Regions from separate parts of the Homo sapiens genome. Here region 2 is linked to region 1. Evidence: promoter capture Hi-C in human tissues and cell types (Jung and others, 2019). All regions are on one chromosome and are shown on one strand. The core of a region is centred on a gene start or on the middle of the fragment in contact, and the rest is flanking DNA. Distances in the headings are between cores, read along the strand shown. Region 1 holds the start of RHD (Rh blood group D antigen). Region 2 has its middle 14 kb from the start of SELENON.

Region 1 (3,117 bases), core at 270-2,769:
TTGAAATGAATTAGAGTAAATTGAAGTGAATTAAAATTGTGCCAGCTCTTGTTTGTCTGTCACTGAAGGCTCCTCTCTGGGCCAGCACCTTAAATGGTATAAGGGCTTCCCTCCCTAAGTCCTACTTGTCACTGCCATGGCCCCCAGGATGACTTCTCTTTGCTTCCAGTTAACTAGCCGTTCATATCAACCTAGGAACAAGCAAGGACTCAACCAGGCTCAAGCTTCAACTTTGTCTCAGGGACATTCTTCAAGGAGGCCCTGTCTATTATCAACAACCTATCAGCCCACTGAGATGCCTGAAACTCATTTCAATATTTTTAAAAAAGCAAAGTCACACCATTGTGGACATCTGTCTTATTTACAGTTGTCTCATCACAGTCTGGGAATATTTTTAGCTGAATATAAAATAACCATCATCCTACCCTCCCCTTCAGCCATACCTTCTGGTTCTGGATTTATAGACAGCATGCAGACTTCCCAGCCCCTAAGTGAGAAGAAAGCTGGGGTCGGTGGGGGTGGGGGTGGGGGGTAGCAACAGGCTGAAGCTTCCAAAAGAAAACTAGTATAGATATGAGCAAGAGAGCTGGGCACAGTGCTTCACGCCTGTAATTCCAGCACTTTGGGAGACTGAGGCTGGAGGATCGCTTGTGTCCAGGAGTTTGAGACCAGTCTGGGAAACACAGGGAGACCCACATCTCTACCAAAAAAAAAAAAAAAAAAAATTAGCCAGGCATGGTGGTGCCCTCCTGTGGTCCCAGCTTCTTGGGAGGCTGAGGTGGGAAGATTGCTTGAGACTAGGAGGTCAAGGCTGCAGTGAACCATGATCATGCCACTGCACTTCAGCCTGGGCAACAGAGTGAGACCCTGCCTCAAAAAGAAATAAGAAATGAGCGAGAGGCCACAAAAAGGAAACAAAAACCAAAAACCCAACAACATGAAATTGCTTGCATAAGATAGCTGCACTTGTATCCCCTAAATCTATAAAAATAAAAAAATTCCTTGCCACTGAGGAGAGAGAAGGGGAAGCAGAGAAGCAGAGAATTATGAAGACCATTTGGTAGAGGGAATTTGAGGAACACCAAAGAGGATGCCTCTCACTGTGCTGAAAAATCAAGGCAGGCTTCACAGAAGAGGGCATGCCCAGGCTGCTTCTAAAGGAAAGCTTACATTGTTGGCTGAATTTCGGTGCAATCTACGGAAGAAGATGGGGGAATCTTTTTCCTTGGGATTTTGTAGAAAGGAACATCTGTGCCCCTGGAGAACCACAGGCCTCCCCCGCCCCTGCCCCTGCTATTTGCTCCTGTGACCACTTTTCCAATGAACTCTCACCTTGATAGGATGCCACGAGCCCCTTTTGATCCTCTAAGGAAGCGTCATAGTGGGTAAAAAAATAGAAGAGGAGAATGAGAGCTGCTTCCAGTGTTAGGGCCCAGAGGGGCAGGCAGCGCCGGACAGACCGCGGGTACTTAGAGCTCATCCTGTGTCCGTCTCTGTGCAGGGGTTCCACCAGCACCAGGCATCACCCCTCTCTCCAACACCTACTTGAGGGCTTGAGGGAGCGATAGGGGAGACACCCGCCAAAGGCCTTATCTCAGGCTGCAAGGCTGGTTGTGCTGGCCTCTCTATGGAGTTAACACGGAAGCAGAGGGACTATGATGGGGAGGGGAGGAAATGTATGTTTTCCAATATTGTCATTCATTCAACAAGTTGCTGTGTTCCTGTTACAGGTTCCTGCTGTGCTCAGTTTGAAAGAGGGCATTCTATTCCTTTGACACCCAAACATAATCCTTCTTTACTCTGTACTTCAGTCATCTTCAGCATATCCTTGTAAGAAAAGCAAGGAATGGATCAATACTCCTATTTTATGAATAAGGAAACTGAAGCTCAGAAGAGGCTTTCTTTTTAAAACCTTACTACATGACAGAGAGGGCACCCAGTGAGCTCTTAACAACAATGTATTGAATGAGAATGAATGAAAGCAAAGAATGGAGCTGAGCCCTGGGGAGGATACAGATAGGACCCACGTAGAACTGACTCCTCATAGTTACACAGTTGAAATTACTTACATTTGAATTTGTATTTAAATCTATGTGTTTCTAAGCATTTTAAGGGGGGGTGGCAGAAGAGAAAGGAGATGTGGGTTTGGCTCTAGTAAAAACCTGGAGGGGATCCTGATCCAGCCTTAGGGTGAAGTTGCTCTACCTCTGGTCACCTCCTCACAGGGCAGCCCAGGACTCTGCCTGGGGCACTACAGTGCATTTGAGGAAGGCCACCAGCCTCAGCATCCCCATCCCTCAGTACTGGACAGTCCAGTCCCCTGGCATGAGCTTTAGGGGGCTTGGGACTTAGTTCTAACCCTGCAGCCAACTTCCCCTGTGCTCCCATCCATGTGCCTGGCAGAAGGTCTGGTACATGGTAAGTGTCGAGGAAGGAAGGAAGAGAGAGAGGGATGTAGAGAGGGAGGAAGAGATGAAAGAGGAAGAAAAGAAGGAAGGAATTGGAGTTTCCTTATTTTCTACAATGGTCCCAGCCACTGGCCACTGAGTGTAAACTGAATGTGTGGAGCCCCAGAGAATAAAGCCAGGGCCAGGAGCTGCAGGGAGGTGGAAAGTGGATACTTTATTGACCATTACAGTTGTCCACTGAAATACTCATGAGGTAGTGAGCACCCTGTCACTAGAGGAATGCAGAAATGTCTTGAAAACAATTCCTATGTAGATCAGAGGAGATTTTAATCACCCAGTCGAATCCTGTCATTTTGTTTTTAGACCAAGAAACCAAGACCCAGAGAGGTCATACCTAAGGTCATCTAGTCACTTGGCATCAGTCACTTCTTGCTCAGTGCAGCTTTATTTACAGAAGGAAAAAACTGAGACTAACCTAAATGTCCACTAGCAGGGGGTTGGTTAAGAAAACTACAGGACATGAAACTTGCTACCAATATGATGGTTCTGAACATATGCAGGAAAAGCAAGAGGAAAACGCTTTTATCAAAACTGACACAGAGGATAGACTGTTTAGTGAAAAAGCAAGTTATATAACAGCATGTACAATATATTCCCACTCTTATAAAATAATATGTTAGCACACGCATAGAAAAAAGTTGGCTGCAAA
Region 2 (3,117 bases), core at 260-2,759, 510 kb before region 1:
GAAAGCTGAGGCGGAAGGATAGCCTGAGCCCAGGATTCTGAGACCAACCTGAGAAATGTAGCGACAAAAAAAAAATTAGCTGGATGTGGCGGCACACCTGTAGTTTCAGCTATTCAGGAGGCTAGGTGGAAGGACTGCTTGAGCCCTGCAGATGGAGGTTGCAGTGAGCTATGATGGCCCCACTGAACTCCAGCCTGGGTGACAGAATAAGACCCTGTGTCAGGAAAAAAAAAAAAAAAGGCAGAATCTCAGGCTCCATGCCAGAGCCGCTGAACATGAACCTGGATTTTAACAAGCTCCCAGGTGATTCCTGTGCACGTTTGAGAAGCTCTGACTTAAGAGACAGGCTGAGCAGGAACAAAACAGTGCTCCAAATATAGGAAACCAAACTGATATTTTCAGATACAAAAAATAGAATCAGCCCCCTTCCTCCAGTAGGGTGTAATTAAGCATTAGTCACAGAGGGCCGAGCATCTTTGTGCCACATGACCAATGACCATACTTCCAAGGACAGGCCCCCAGGGGAAACGCTGGGGGAAGCTGGCCCATTCATCTCTAGCACTTTCTCAAACCACAGTGGGGTCACCTCCTCAAAGCAGAGGGAACGGAACTGAGCATCCATCTTGGATGCTGCCTTTAAATCAGATTTTCCATTTTTGCTTTTCTTCCCAATGCATTTGGCTGGTCTGACCAAATAGCCAGTCATTTAAAGGGAGGCACCTAGAAAAGGACTGTGCCCTGCTCGTCCCCCTTCCCGGGGCCTTGAGGCTCTGCAGACCTCAGTGCCAGGAGCTGGGTGTTGATGAAGCTTTCTGGGAAGGAGCTGACATCACACCCTTCTATGAGGGAAGCAGGTGCAAATGGTGCTTCCATCCTCAGCGAGGGCGCAGATGAGGCTTAAAATGAGCTTGGCAGCCACAGGCTGACCCCCAGCTGGGGAAGGAGAGGGCTGCTTCAGGGAGAGGTTTGGGTGTTCAGATTCTGTGGCTTGCAAAGCTCTCTCCTACCTTCAGTGAGAGGTTTGGGTGTTCAGATTCTGTGGCTTGCAAAGCTCTCTCCTACCTTCAGTGAGGATGAGTCATCCCTTAATTCCTCTCTCCTCTCGGCCTGTCTTGAGTCGTACTTATTTTTATCCGTGGAATGGAGTTAAGTTGCCAAAAGGATGATATTTCTCCACCTGCAAGGGCCCTCCTGGAGGATACATTTTAAAATATTCATTTTTACAATTTCCTCCCAGCAATACAGCAGAGGACAGGAGAGGAGAGGTAGACAGCCGCACGGGCCTGGCGGGGGAGCCTGGGGCTTGGGGAACTGCAAAGTGGCTTTGAGACAGAGAGACATTCTAGAAGTTATTCTGAGGACATAATTGGACAAAAGTGAAAAGGAGGATGGTTAAGTATGCTCTTCATAACTCTCTGTATAATACTGAAGAAATCAAAGCTAACTGTAAACAGTCCTGCTGTTTTTGCCTGTGCAGCCTGCAGATCCCTTATTTTGGTGATGAATCTCATGTTTTTCTCTAGGGAACAGCCCAACACCCATTGCACAGGGTAATCTTAGGGGGTCTGCCAAGCCAAGATGCCTGGCTCTGCCCTTGGCTGGGGCGGGCATGTGACCCAGGCCAGGCCACATGGAAAGGAGCCACAGCAGGATCTGGAAACATTTGGATTCAGCCCTCCTGATGGTGGTGCCTAGAGAGGCTTCCCTGGTTCTTGAAGGGGTCCCTGGCCAAGTCCTCTTTCTAGCCCTTATTGAGGTTTGGCTGTTTACTCCTTCCTGAGATTCCATAAGCCACCCCATGGCATTTCAGTAAATCCCTTTCTGTGCTTAAGTTGACAGAGTTGGTTTCTGTGATTTGTAACTAAAATCCCAGATGGACACAAACCCAAATGCCTGGCAACAGGGGCTTAGATCAGCAAAGTAGGCTACAGCACACAATGGAATACTCCACAAGCACGTACAGCGATGAGATAAACATGTATTTGTTGACATGGAAAGAGGTTCACAATGTACAGTTAAGTGCAAAAGCAGATTATAAGAAAACAGTGTGCATAGTAGGATACCACGGTGGCAAAATCTATATTCTATATATTCATAGAAAAAGGCCTAGAAGAAAATATAACAGTATTCACCCCAGAGAGTGGGATGGCCAATGAGTCTTCTTTCTGCTTCTATTTTCTAATCTTTCTACAATGTTTGTGTAGTCAGTTTTCCTGGTTTGCTTTTTTTTTTTTTTTTTTTTGAGCACAGGTGGGTCATGGGAGTCACGCTCTCATGCTGCCTGTCAAGAGCATGGTACTTGCTACAGGGGCTACTCCCCAGCAGCTCTGCTTAAGAAGATTCTGGGAATGTCTTGAGTCTCCAGAACAAGGAACAAGCACTTCCTGTGCCCAGGGAACCAGCAGCTTCCCACTTCTTCTCACAGCAACCTTGTGGGGTTGAGGTTTTCTGTCTGCTTGATGGAAAAGAAGAGCCCAGAGAGGGGAGGTACCTGCCTAAGTTCACACAGCAGGGATTTAAAGCCGGGTCACCTGGCCCAGAGCCCCGGGGGCTATTAAAGCTTATGAACAGAGCAAGCAGCTGAGCCCAGGGAAGGGCTCAACATTCTCCCGTGATTTCCGCTGTGTTGACAAGCTGCAAATGTGCCAGGAAAGGACTGGGTGTGGTGGCTCATGCCTGTAATCCCCGCACTTTGGGAGGCTGAGGTGGGCGGATCACCTGAGCTCAGGAGTTCAAGACCAGCCTAGGCAACATGGCAAAACCTCGTCTTTACTAAAAATACAAAAAATTAGCCGGGTGTGGTGACGCACCCTGCTACTGGGGAAGCTGAGGCAGGAGAACTGCTTGAACCCAGGAGGTGGAGGTTGCAGTGAGCCAAGATTGCACCACTGCACTCCAGCCTGGGCGACTGAACGAGACTCTGGGTCTCAAAAAAAAAAAAGGGTCAGGGGAGGAAGAGCTGTCACTTCAGTGTTAGGACCTGAGCTCCTTGCTCTGCACAACAGCCCCAGTGTTTCAGGCCCCCTCCCAGGGAGGGCATCAGGGAGGGTGGGAAAGGGGGCTGGGTTATGGGAAGTTCATTCTTCTGCCAGATAGTCTTTCGGCTGCTCCTTTTTA

What was found. The method cuts DNA at HindIII sites, captures the fragments that hold promoters and counts their contacts. A contact is called where the count stands out against the background at its distance.
Region 2: a contact is called between a fragment that was not itself captured here and the fragment with the promoter of RHD in region 1, in 1 of the 25 tissues and cell types used here (dorsolateral prefrontal cortex).

The regions. Positions count from the first base shown.
Region 1 is chr1:25,270,911-25,274,027 of GRCh38, reverse strand. RHD (Rh blood group D antigen) reads right to left here and starts at 1,519. Exons shown (of 10, transcript NM_016124.6): 1 at 1,333-1,519. The coding sequence starts at 1,480. The region is part of intron 1 of LOC105376882 (a long non-coding RNA gene); the gene reads left to right. It also overlaps a transcript of RSRP1 not described here. The HindIII fragment of the contact is 5,221 bases long and covers 858-3,117 here.
Region 2 is chr1:25,785,049-25,788,165 of GRCh38, reverse strand. No RefSeq gene overlaps it. Among named protein-coding and RNA genes, the nearest start is that of SELENON, 14 kb to the left of the region's middle. The HindIII fragment of the contact is 5,414 bases long and covers 1-3,117 here.